2 separate regions of the Homo sapiens genome follow, and region 2 is linked to region 1. The links are contacts of gene promoters, found by promoter capture Hi-C in blood cells and fetal thymus (Javierre and others, 2016). All regions are on one chromosome and are shown on one strand. Each heading gives the region's core, a stretch centred on a gene start or on the middle of the fragment in contact. The rest is flanking DNA. Distances are from core to core; before and after follow the strand shown.

The links. The method cuts DNA at HindIII sites, captures the fragments that hold promoters and counts their contacts. A CHiCAGO score of 5 or more calls a contact.
Region 2: the fragment with the promoter of SLC30A2 here is called in contact with the fragment with the promoter of CNKSR1 in region 1 in 6 of 17 cell types (M2 macrophages, M1 macrophages, erythroblasts and 3 more); the score reaches 9.3 in M2 macrophages.

What each region holds. Positions count from the first base shown.
Region 1 is chr1:26,173,812-26,180,422 of GRCh38, reverse strand. It overlaps CNKSR1 (connector enhancer of kinase suppressor of Ras 1), which reads right to left and starts at 2,932. Exons shown (of 21, transcript NM_006314.3): 1 at 2,824-2,932. The coding sequence starts at 2,875. The HindIII fragment of the contact is 21,071 bases long and covers 1-6,611 here.
Region 2 is chr1:26,043,048-26,049,658 of GRCh38, reverse strand. It overlaps SLC30A2 (solute carrier family 30 member 2), which reads left to right and starts at 3,541. Exons shown (of 8, transcript NM_001004434.3): 1 at 3,541-3,812; 2 at 4,442-4,662; 3 at 5,215-5,361; 4 at 6,108-6,261. The coding sequence starts at 3,763. It overlaps LOC105376910 (a long non-coding RNA gene), which reads right to left and starts at 1,401. Exons shown (of 2, transcript XR_001737948.2): 1 at 1-1,401. RefSeq lists an enhancer at 3,942-4,510. The HindIII fragment of the contact is 10,541 bases long and covers 1-5,629 here.

The DNA.
Region 1 (6,611 bases), core at 1,683-4,182:
AGCAGAGGTGTCAGGACCTTTTGGGATGGTTCTTCATGCCTGCAAAGCTCTTTTCCCTCTAGTCTAACCCTAATGACAACTCTGACACCCAGGCTGTTCTGCCCATTTCACAGATGAGGCCACTGAGTTGAGAAGCAGGAAAGTATAGGACATGGGTTCTTAAAAGTGGCCCCCAGACCAGCAGCAGCAGACTCACCGGAGAACTTGTTAGAAATGCAAATTATCAGGCCTCACCCCACACCTGCTGAATCAGAAACTCTGAGGTTGGGGCCCAGCAGTCTTTTTTTTGTTTTTGTTTTGTTTTTTCTTTTTGAGACAGGGGCTTGAGACACAGTCACGGCTCACTGCAGCCTTGACCTCCTAGGCTCAATCCATCCTCCCACCTCAGCCTCCCAAGTAGCTGGGACTACAGGCACACACCACCACACCCAGCTAATTTTTGTATTTTTTGCAGAGGTGGGATTTCACCATGTTGCCCAGGCTAGTCTCGAACTCCTGGGCTCAAGCAATTTGACTGCCTCAGTCTCTGAAAGTGCTAGAATTACAGGTGTGAGCCACGACGCCCAGCCAGCAGTTTGTATTTTAATGCAGGTGACTGTGATGCTCCCTTAAGTTTGAGAACTAATGATACAGGGGATAAGAACAAGAGGCTATGGAGTCACTGAGACACTGTGAACACTTGAGCAAGTAATAGCACTGCTCTGTGCCCAGTTTTCTCACCTGTAATGTGAGAATAATAAAAGTACCTACCTTCTAATCATGTGTGTATTGAATGACACAACATATGTCAAGGCCTTGGCCACTGTCTGGTTCGTGGGAGACAGCCAATAATAGCCATCATATTATTATTGCCAGACTTTACCATGACCTACAGGCCCTGTATGATTAGGCTACTACCTCCCTTTCCAGCATCATATCCTGAAGAGCCCCCTAAACTCAACATTTCAGATGCACAGAGCTAATTCCTTGCAGCTCCTGGAACACCCTTTTACCTCAGCGTCCTTGCAAGTGCTATTCCTCCTGCTGGCGTTGCTCTTCTATCTCCTTCACTTCCTTTTTCATCTAACTTCCTCCAGGAAGCCTTCCATAACTTCCCAGGCTGAGTGGGATGGAGGGCTCTCCTCTTGTTCCCACTGCCCCTGAGCCTCCACAAACCCCTGCACTTGACCATCGGTCTTTCCCATTTTATCACAGGCTCTTCAAAGATCAGGCCTTAGATAACCATTTGTCTCTAACCCCCGGCCTGTGCCTGGACAAGGTAGGCACTGAAAAATAAGAAAAGTGTCTATTGAGGGCTTACTATGTGCTATGCAAATCTATAAGAGCTTTACACATATTAACACATTTGATTCTCACTGCATTTCTAGGAGGTAAAGACTATCATTATCCTGCTTACAGATGGGAAAACTGACACAGAGGTTAAGTAGCTTGCTCACTCTTCGAAGGAATTCTTCCCCTTCTAAGCCAGGCTCCTTCACTGGGGGAGGTGTGTGTGTGTGTTCCCTGTGTCACATTGAGAGCACTGGACTGGGAGTTCATGAACCTATCACTCCCTGGCTATGGGCCCCTGAGCCACCTCCTTCCTGCACGGTGACTGTATTGGGCTGGTGCCCTCCCAATAGACCCAGGCATTGAGCTACAAATGAACTATGTCATGATTGTCTCACTTTGTCGACTTCATAAGGTCAGAGTTGCCTTTCCCATTTGATGGACAGAAAAACTAAGACCTATGGTCACAGAGCTGGCAAGCGGTGGGGGTGGGCCTGGAATCCAGCCTGGGAGTCTGAACCCAGCCCTGAATTCCTGCCCTTACCCGGGCTGGTCCTCCTGAGCCTGTCTCTAGTGCGCTCCAGCTCCCCACTCTGGGAGGGGTGTCCTGACTGCCTGCTCCTGGTCGCACTGTGTGTCAGGAGGCCCTTCCTTCTCTGAGTCTGCCTGTGGGGTGTGTTGCTTCCCATCTGTGTGGGCTCGCTGAGCCTGGACAGCACCTTGCCCCTTGGATAGGAGCCCCAGGGTGGGGCTGTGTCAACCTCTTCAGTCTGGCCTAGGGCTTCTGCTTCTGTCACTAGGAGCTCAGGGTGTGGAGCGGGGAAAATGACACCAGAGACTGAGCAAATCATTTCCTGGCTCTGTGTGTCAGTTTCTGACTCTAAGAAACGGATTTAACAACAGCCCACTGGCCCTGGGGCCAGGGAAGATGAAGGAGATACAGTGGGTGTGGGCCTGTCAGGCCTCCCTCCTGTTTTCATGACACCGCCTCCCCATTATCACCCTAGAGGCCTCTTGGGCTACTGCCATGATGAGGGGCCCCCTTCTGGGTCCTTGGGCCCCCCAGGGTCATCTCATCTGTCTCTCTGCCCAGCACGGTTCCTGGAACATGTTAGGTGCTCTGTAAATATTTGTTGACTGACTGACCGACTGATAGAGCCCGCAGTTTATTATTTTTTTTTTTCTTTTGAGCTGAATCTCGCTCTGTCGTCCAGACTGGAGTGCAGCGGTGCAATCTCGGCTCACTGTAACCTCTGCCTCCTGGGTTCAAGCGATTCTCCTGCCTCAGCCTCCCAAGTAGCTGGGATTACAGGCACCTGCCACCACCCCCAGATAATTTTTGTATTTTTAGTAGAGACGGGGTTTCACCATGCTGGTCTTGAACTCCCGACCTCAGGTGACCCACCCACCTTGGCTTCCCAAAGTGCTGGGATTACAGGTGTGAACCAGCGCACCCAGTCCGCAGATTTTTTTTCCTTTTCCTCTCCTCCCGCTTCCCGGTGGGACACCACACCTAGTCCCCTTCAAGCCCAACTCTACCCCAGCCCCACCCACCTCTCAGCCAAGTTGCCACCTTTCCGGGGGTCCAGGTCTCTACCGGTTCCATGGCCCAGCTCTGCCAGCTCGAATCAGCTCCTGTTTTGCCCTGCTGTCGCCGGAATTTCCGCTCCCAGAGCCCAGGCCTAAGGAGGGGCCGGGCTGGGTCCTGGGCGGAGCCTACTGCATACCTGGGCTCACACAGACGGCAAGATGAGGCACTGCGACAGCCATTGGCCCACGCCCGTCCGCCTCCTGCCCGGCCCTTCAGACATCCTAGGGCTCTGGCATCTCGCGCCTGCTAGGGGGCAGTGCCACTGGCCTCATATCGCGGGGTGGGACCCTGACCCTTGGGCTCCTCAAGAAAAAGCCACAAGAGGAGCGCTGAAATCAGTAGCAAAGCACAGAGGCTAGGGGGCCAGGTCCCTGGGTGCCTAGGCCAGCTCTTGTTAGCTGTGTGACCTGGGGCTGACCCTAACTTCTGCGCCTCAGTTTCTGGGTCTGTAAAAGAGATATAATAGACCGTACTTCAAAGGGCAGCTGTGCACAGTATCTGAATGGCTTGAAAACATTTAGAACTGGGGTGTTTAGCCTCCCTTGGATTTTGCAGTATGGACTCTGGCATCTGGTGAGGCCTGTGAATGCTTTCTCAGAATAGCTGCTTATAAAGGCATAAAACAGGCCGGGCGCGGTGGCTCACGCCTGTAATCCCAGCACTTTGGGAGGCCGAGGTGGGCGGATCACTTGAGATCAGGAGTTCAAGACCAGCCTGGCCAATATGGTGAAACACCATCTCTACTAAAAATACAAAAAATTAGCTGGGCGTAGTGGGTGCTTGTAATCCCAGCTACTCAGGAGGCTGAGGCAGGAGAATCCCTTGAACCCAGGAGGGGGAGGTTCCAGTGAGCCAAGATCGTGCCACTGCACTCCAGCCTGGGCAACAGAGCAAAACTCTGTATTATAAATAAATAAATAAATGCACAAAACAAAATGCTTAGGATTACAATGAGAACAATTATCAAAACTATATTTAAAAACAAATTTGGCCGGGCATGGTGGTTCACGCCTGTAATTCCAGCACTTTGGAAGGCCAAGGCGGGTGGATCATGAGGTTAAGAGATGGAAACCAGCCTGCCCAACATGGTGAAACCCCGTCTCTACTAAAAATACAAAAATTAGCTGGGTGTGGTGGTGCACGCCTGTAGTCACAGCTACTCAGGAGGCTGAGGCAGGAGAATCGCTTGAACCTGGGAGGCGGAGGTTGCAGTGAGCTGAGATCACGCCTCTGCACTCCAGCCTGGCAACAAAGCAAGACTCCGTCTCAAAAAAAAAACCCACAAAAAACAAAAAAAAAATTTGGAGCTGGGGAGTGCTGGCACACGACTGTAGTCCCAGCTACTCGAGAGGTTGAGAGGTTGAGCGGGGGAGTATCACTCAAGCCCAGGAGTCAAAGCCACCCTGGGCAACATAGCAGGAGCCCATCTCAAAAAAATAAAACCAGAAATTTATATTATGTGTTTACTAACATTAATAAGACTGGCCGAAAGTTAAATTTTTCTTTTTTAATGACCTCAGTGTGTTGTCGACCAGCTTGAATAAGGACATTAAACTGTGGGGTGGTCTTTGACGCCCCTCCTCTTACATATTGATCAGCAAACAACTAAAAACAGGGAATGCTGGGCCGGGCATGGTGGCTCACGCCTATAATCGAGACGGGCGGATTATGAGGTCAGGAGATCGAGACCATCCTGGCTAACATGGTGAAACCCCGTCTCTACTAAAAATACAAAAAATTAGCCAGGCATGGTGGCGGGCGCCTGTAGTCCCAGCTACTCAGGAGGCTGAGGCAGGAGAATGGCGTGAACCCAGGAGGCAGAGCTTGCAGTGAGCCGAGTTCGCGCCACTGCACTCTAGCCTGGGCGACAGAGCAAGACTTCGTCTCAAAAAAAAAAAAAAAAAGACAGGGAATGCAGAAGAGTGGAGAAGCCCTACTCAGAACAGGCAGATTCGCCCTTTGGTCACTGAACCACTGCTAAGCCTGGAGGTAACCAATTAATGGCGGCTACATCACAGGAGCATCTGAAACAGAAGTTGCTCACGAACAATTTAGTGGTGGTTTAACAACCACTGTGATTTTGAAATCACTTGAGCATAAATATTTTGAGATACTTGCAATAACTACAATTTGATATGAAAATATGTGATTTCTATTGGTGACTAAGCCAAAGATACTGCTACTGCTTCAATCCATATAGAAGGAAATCATAAATTTTGGTTAGAGTTTAGCAAAAATAAAAATATAATTTTTTCCCATCCAAGTTTATGGATCCCCTGAATTCTGAACCTCAGAGCAAGAGCTTTAATCTTAGAAAAATATCTGACACATAGTAAATGTTCATTTTCATCATCATCATCAGGTCAGGGGACTCCCAGGACTTTAGAATCAGATAAAATCAGCCGGGCGTGGTGGCTCAGGCCTGTAATCCCAGCACTTCAGGAGACCTATGCGGGCGGATCACCTGAGGTCAGGAGTTCGAGACCAGCCTGACCAACATGGAGCAACCCCATCTCTACTAAAAATACAAAATTAGCCGGGTGTGGTGGCACATGCCTGTAATCCCAGGTACTCGGGAGGCTGAGGCAGGAGAATTGCTTGAACTCATGAGGTAGAGGTAGCGGTGAGCTGAGATCGCGTCATTGCACTCCAGCCTGGGCAACAAAAGTGAAACTCCACCTCAAAAAAAAAAAGGCCGGGCGCGGTGGCTCATGCCTGTAATCCCAGCACTTTGGGAGGCCAAGGCGGGTGGATCATCTGAGGTCAGGAGTTCGAGATCAGCCTGGCCAACATAGAGAAGCCCTGTCTGTACTAAAAATCCAAAAAATTAGCCGGTCGTGGTGGCGGGCGCCTATAATCCCAGCAACTCGGAAGGCTGAGACAGGAGAATTGCTTGAACCCGGAAGCAGAGGTTGCAGTGAGCCGAGATTGCGCCACTGCACTCCAACCTGGGCAACAAGAGCAAAACTCTGTCTCAAAAAAAAAAAAAATCAGATAAAATCAGTTCCATACTCAACTGCTATGTGACTCAGCCCAACTTCTACAGCTCTCTGAATCTGTTTCTTTGTCTCCAGAAGGGGATTCCTAGGCCTTAGCACTGTGATGACATTAAGTACTTTGAAATCTGTATCATGGGGTAGATATGAGTTATTATTGCTTTAATTCTGTGGGGAGGAGCTACCTGTTGTCACCTACTTCAGAATTTCTGCAGCACCCCCAGTCATCAAAGCCTGTCACGACCTTACCTGTAACCCAGAGACCCAAAGTCTGAATTTCGCCCATGGTTGGCCCATGTAGTGTACGTGTGTTGTCATCATTTAATAACGTCACATCCAAATTGAGATTTCCAGCTTCTCTGAACTTGGCCAGCTCTGGTGATGCCATCCCACCTTCACACTTGGTATTAACAGCCTCTTTCATTTTGTGAGCCAGTTGGCTTCAAATTTGCAAAATGCCCGTCTCCAGCTTTGTCTTTTGCCTCAGGTCTGTGTCCCTTGAACACTCCGTGCTGCATCCTCGTTTAACATTTTTGCCTCTTCATGCAGCAGCCTCCCTGTGGCACTCTGGGGAAGTCCAGTAAATTCTAATAGAGCCTTTATCAGTGTTCGGTAGACAGATCTTGATTTCATCAAATATCTTTCCTGAGCTGCCACCAGAGGTGAGAACCAGCCCCCTCTCTCCCTGAACCACGGCGCCTTTACTCTACGCTCCCAGCATCTGCCAGGGTTAGGCAGTTAGGAACACAGTAAGT
Region 2 (6,611 bases), core at 2,292-4,791, 130 kb after region 1:
AGGCCAAGTCAGCCACCGGCAGTAGGGGATGAATTCATGACTGTGGCCCAGTAGCATCCAGGATCTCCATGAGCAAGAAGCCAAGGGCCTGGAGAGAGGCAAGGCTGAGCGAATCCGAGGCAGCGCATTCACCGGGGCTGATACACCAGAGACTTACAACTTTGAGGAGCATTGCAGAGCCTGTTCCCCCTTTTAGACATTCAGATCACAGTAGCAAATTAAGGGGTCCGAGTCGTCCCACCGTAAAGAAAGCGAATTAACTTTAGATGAGGACCATCAAGTTCATGGTGCTTGGAATGCTGCCTGACCCTAAGTCTTTCATTTTGTGTGTGTGGACTGAATTTCCCAACTTATTCATATGACATCCTCCGGAACTAGAGTTATGTGGAACTTGCTTTAGGACAGTGCTCAAAAACCCTCACAACCTCTGCCCATTTTCACTTCTGGGAGTTTGGTAGGTTTTCTAAGGCTAACTCAGTTCCTAACTTTGAATTTCAAAGAATCAGATTTTGCTCTCATTTCCAGTCCTTTCTCAAGTTCTGAAGCATTTTGTTTTAGTTTTTAAAACACGGTGTAATACACACACACACACCCTTAAAAGTGCACAAAACTCATCGTAGAGTTTAATAACCTATTGTAAAATGAAACCTTATGTTACTACCACTCAGGTGAAAAAAAAAAAAGAACATTGCCAGCCCTCAGAAGCCCTCCATGTGCCCCTCTACCACATCACAGCTCCTCTTTCTGATTGGGGCAGCGGAAAGAGGAGCGGTCAATTTTTTTGTTTTTTTGACAATCACATACTTGTTTTTCTTTATGGTTTGGTCTCCTAAAGTATCCTCCCATAGAAAACTGAAGGGATTTGAGTCCAGAAGGAGAAATTTGAGGCCAGAAAGAGAGAGGTTTTCATCACCTTGAAATCACAAGAATCAGTATTATAACGTGTGTATGTTCTGTTACTTCTCCAGGCTACTGATCATGTAAGCAGCAAGCATTTCAGCCCCGTATCTTGTCACTTATGGAAGAGAAGAGAGAGCAGTTGAGACTTTGGGTAATCAGTTAAAGATTAAATTCCAGGAAGATACCTGTTAATTGCAACTAAGGGGATCTTTCCTTTGCCATAGGAAGGGCTCTTCCTGTACTTGCAAACTAGAACCCTTAAGATGGTATGAAGGGTTCTTGATCAACATGCTTCCTTTAAAATCATGCTGCAAGAGAGGACAGCTGGCTTCAAGGGGGTTCTTTCAATGAATCTTGAATACAGCTCCATGGGCTGCTACATCAGAATTGCCAGGAAAGGTTTATTTTTCCCCAAGTCTTTAATTCTGAAACTTTTTTTTTTTTTTTTTTTAGACAGAGTTTCACTCTTGATTGCCCACGCTGGAGTGCAATGGCATGATCTCGGCTCACTGCAACCTCTACCTCCCGGGTTCAAGTGATTCTCCTGCCTCAGAATTCTGAGTAGCTGGGATTACAGGCGCCTGCCACCATGCCTGGCTAATTTTCTTATTTTTAGTAGAGACGAGGTTTTGCCATGTTGACCAGGCTGGTCTCGAACTCTTGACCTCAGGTGATCCGCCTGCCTCAGCCTCCCAAAGTGCTGGGATTATAGGCGTGAGCCGCCGCACCCAGCCAACATTTTTTAAATACTGAAAAGTAGAGGGAATAGTTATAGTGTACCCCATTTACCCATCACTCAGTTTCAACAGCTGGTGACATATTTATTTCTTCTATACCAGTACCGTACTCTCCCCACTGGGATTATTTTAAGGCAAAACCCAGATGACATTTTATCCCTAAATACTTTAGATAAAGGTGTTCTTTGAAAAAAATCATAACCTCAGGACCAGCCTGGCCAACATGGTGAAACCCTGTCTGTACTAAAAATACAAAAATTAGCTTGGCATGGTCGTGGGCACCTGTAATCCCAGCTACTCAGGAAGCTGAGGCAGGAGAATCACTTGAATCCGGGAAGCAGAGATTGCAGTGAGCTGAGATTGCAGTCGAGCCTGGGCGACAGAGACAGAAATGAAACTCTGTCTCAAAAACAAACAAACAAAAAAACCACTATACATAAAAATGAACAATGATGCCACAATAGCACCAGAGAATTTTATAAATACAGATTCCCAGGCCCTGCCCCAGACCTACTGAATCCTGGAAATATTCAGGCTCCACACCCAGAGATTCTGGTTCGGTTGGTCTGATGCAGGGACCTGTAACCTGCGTTGTAACACCTTCTCCAGGTAATGCTGAGCCTGCTGGTGCTCAGAGTAGACAGACCTGGAGAAAACCAGGGTGTCTGAGGTTTTCCAGAAGAAAACCAGAGTCCAGAGAAGCAGAGAGGCACTCAGTGAGGACCCAAGCAGAGCGGGTGCACCTCACATCCTCACTCCTGGCACCCCGTCTCCTACAAGATGAGAGACTGAAAGAGCCCCTTCCTGTCCCCAGTGGTGTGGGCAAGAGGCCTGCACCTCTGACTCTTGGCTCTGTGAAAGGCCATACCCACCAAGCCTATGGTCCTAGCGACAAAGGGTGCTGGGGAGACGAATTGACCAGACAGGGAGGTCTCCAGCAGCTTCTTTCTACACAGAGGGCACCTGTCAGAGGCCAGCGTGGGGGCCACAGGCTCCCCAATCCCCAAGAACCGCCAGGGAAGGAGGCTGCTTCAAGTGGGTGGGGCACCAAGCTGGCCAGGAAGGACAGGGCTTCTCCCAGCGGTACCAACACGGTGGCACCTCCGGCCTGCATCTCCCAGGCTTGCTTGTCAGGCTTCCTGGGGCTCCCAGGAGCCGCTGCGGGGGAGGGGAGAAGGGGTGGCAGCAGTGGCAGTGGTCGTCTCTGCTCCGATGGTGACTGCCGATGACACTGTTCTCTGTGCGGGTGGAGACAAAGCCGGCCACTCCAGATTCTCCTGCGCGCAGGAGAGGAGGAGCTGGCGCTGCTTCAGTGGCGAGGATGGGTCGATCAGTCCCAGCCGGTCCTAGGGAGAGACACTGCCCCAGCCTGAGGGCGGCGCAGCCCACCCCACCCCAGGACCCTCCTAGCAGGAGGACAGGAACGCAAGCCGACCTCGGGGGGTCTCCGGCCTGAGAGGGGAACATGATCAAGCCCAGGGCAGCCGCCAGTCGGAGGGGGCAGACGCGGCCCCAGTAGCCTCTGGAGACCCTCTTCCGAGGCAAGGAGCCACATTCCTGCCGTCGGGACCACCAAAGCGGATTTCTACAAACTAAAGTCGAGAACTTTTCGGCGGCGAGGCGGCGCACCCCGCGCGGGAGAGGGGGCGCAGGCGTCACCCCGTCCTCACTCAGCAACACCCGGCGCCGCGCCGGGCGAAGGCTGGCAAACTTCTCGCGGCCGGCAGGTGGGCTCCGCGGGCCCCATGGGCGCAGGCACAGGTGTGCGGGGCCACAGCCGGGCCTTTTGCAGCCGGCGACCGCCCCCCCTTCCCCGCGGGCTTTTGCACACGACGCGCCGACGGCAGCTTCACACGGGTTGGCGAGGGCCGGATAAAGCCGGCGGCCGCGGGGCGCAGCGGCTGACCCGAGACACGGGAGCGCTTGGCACGCGGAGCCAGAGCCGGAGCTGCAGCCGCAGCGGGAGCCGGGGGAGCTCAGGGGCCGCAGGAGCCGGGCCGGAGTGAGCGCACCTCGCGGGGCCCTCGGGGCAGGTGGGTGAGCGCCACCCGGAGTCCCGCGCGCAACTTTCAGGGCGCACTCGGCGGGGCGGCTGCGCGGCTGCCGGGACTCGGCGCGGGACTGCATGGAGGCCAAGGAGAAGCAGCATCTGTTGGACGCCAGGCCGGCAATCCGGTAAGGCGAGAGCCTGGGGACGGGCGGGAATTTTGGCGGCAGCCGACGCACCTCCGCATTTGCCATCCTAGCAGTGGTTGGTTTTGGCTGCGGCTTGAGCTGGGACCATGCAGGAGGGGTGGGGTGAGGTGAGGGAACGAAGATAATGGGCTGTGGCCCAAGGACCGTCTCTCCCTTGGGGCGCAGCCCAGATTCTGACCCCTGCCCGCGGGGGGCCTGGGGCCGGGGGATTGGCGGTTCCCATGCCTGGAGTCCCGCCCCGCCCAGCACTTTGCCCCAGGCAGCCCCGCCCCGGGGAGGCCCTGTGTCCCAAGTGCGCTGGAGGGGGCCTGCTGTTCTCCCAGAGCCTGCGCTCTGTTCCTTCCCCGCGCTCCACTGGACAGCACGCCCCTTGGCCGGTTCCCAGGGTCTTCACCTCCTCTGGCCTCTGAAGGGCCCCGGGCCCCAGGACTCCCATTCCCCTATCATCCCCGTCTGAATACAGGCTTCTCACCTCTGGTTTGTCGAGCTCGGAGCGTCCTTAGCTATTTTTCCCAGTGGACACAAGGCCTCACAGAGAAATGGGACTAGAGTCGGCCCTCCTTACCTCATCTCAGAGCTGAGCGTTCCCTCTCTTCCCCTCTGGCCAGGTCATACACGGGATCTCTGTGGCAGGAAGGGGCTGGCTGGATTCCTCTGCCCCGACCTGGCCTGGACTTGCAGGCCATTGAGCTGGCTGCCCAGAGCAACCATCACTGCCATGCTCAGAAGGGTCCTGACAGTCACTGTGACCCCAAGAAGGGGAAGGCCCAGCGCCAGCTGTATGTAGCCTCTGCCATCTGCCTGTTGTTCATGATCGGAGAAGTCGTTGGTAAGCACTTTTGGGCTAATTAAATGAAGTTGGTGCATGGATAGACTGGATGTTCCCAGCAATACTGACACTAAAAGCCCCAATTACTGAACACACACTACAGTAAGCCTTTATATACACATTATCTGATGCAGGTCTAACAACAACCTGTGTTCTCACATGGGTGACGTTATTCTCCTTACTTTACAGATGATGAAACTGAGGCATGTTCAGGTGAAGTAACTTGCCAAAGATCACGCACAACTCGTAGCTAAGGGAAGGCCTGAATTCCTAGAAGGGAAGAGCATTTACTGAGTATCTGCTATGTTTTCCAGTCCCTATTTGAACTTGATGTGCACATTCACCCTCTAAGTAGATATTGGTGGCCCATTTCACAGAGAGTGGAAGTTGAGGCTCAGAGAGAGTAGGTCACTTGTCACGGTGGTACAGCTCATGGGTAGAGAGATCTTGAGCCCAGAATGTCCTCTTCCAGAGCCTGTGGTCTCCCTGCTGCACACACAGTCTTGGGAGCCAGCTCTCTGGGGGAGCTGATAAGGACCCTCCACCCTGCAGGTGGGTACCTGGCACACAGCTTGGCTGTCATGACTGACGCAGCACACCTGCTCACTGACTTTGCCAGCATGCTCATCAGCCTCTTCTCCCTCTGGATGTCCTCCCGGCCAGCCACCAAGACCATGAACTTTGGCTGGCAGAGAGCTGGTGAGGATCGCGGTTTGGCTGGAGATGGGGTTGAGAGAGAGGGTGGGTTAGAACAGGGGTTCTTAGGTGGCTGTAATGGGTGGATCCCCCCTTCCTCCCCTGAGTGAGGCCAGGAGGGTGATCTGGATGGGGGAAGAGGATGTCAACCATGGCCTCTGTCCTCTGGGAAATCCTAGTCTGATGGGGGAGCCCTGGTCCCAGTCATCCAGGAGCTCTCAGTCTGCAGGGAAGCAAAGTTGACCTTCCTAAGAAGTGCAGTAGCCAAGCTTCAAGAACAAATGACAATGGCATTAACACTGCACATAACTCTGTGGATCAGCTCTGGGGGGAGGGGAAGGCCAGCAAAGGCTGCTGGAAGATATAGGCTTTAACCTCTCTTCCGTTCACCCTGGACTGCATCGTCACCTTCCTCTTTGTGGGAGATGGCCCAGCCTGTCTTCCCCAGAAGCCTCAGTTTACTAGCTGAACAAAAGGCACATACTTTAATAAGTCAGCTTCTTTACATGTACAACCAAAAAGGTGGACTCAGATGATGACTTATTAGTTCCTTCTAGCTCTTACATTCCTAGATATATGAGGGGTGGGGTAAGGGGCAGCCATACCGGCCATACCTTCAGCAGAGCCCAGTGGGACCCAGGCCCTGACTTTGTGTGGGAGGTGGGTGGGGAGGATCCTGAAGGAAGGGGGAAGACTCCTTAGCTCCAGGCCCATGCCAAGGTGGGTGTTGGGGTTGGGTTCTTCCTCAGAGATCTTGGGAGCCCTGGTCTCTGTACTGTCCATCTGGGTCGTGACGGGGGTACTGGTGTACCTGGCTGTGGAGCGGCTGATCTCTGGGGACTATGAAATTGACGGGGGGACCATGCTGATCACGTCGGGCTGCGCTGTGGCTGTGAACATCATGTGAGTGGGGCCCCAGTTTCCCTCGTCTCCCCTCCTCCTCCCGCCTCTCACACCCACACCTATGTCTGCTTTGCGGAAAGAGACTGTGCCACTTTCCAGCATACGCTACAGGGACAGAACTTCCCTAATGGTCTGAGCTCTGGCACCTGGAACACCTGGGTCCTACCTTAGGCCTAGGCCAAGAACACTGGGAGCTGTAAATCGGAGTCTTCATCCACTCTACCCACTCCCTGATACATGTCAGGGACTAGCCTTGGTGGCTTCATACCTGAAGTGGGGCGGGAAGAGGCCAGTTGTTGCAGGAGTAGCTGTCCCTAGGGGCAGAACCCAAGTCTGAAATTGGTCTCAGT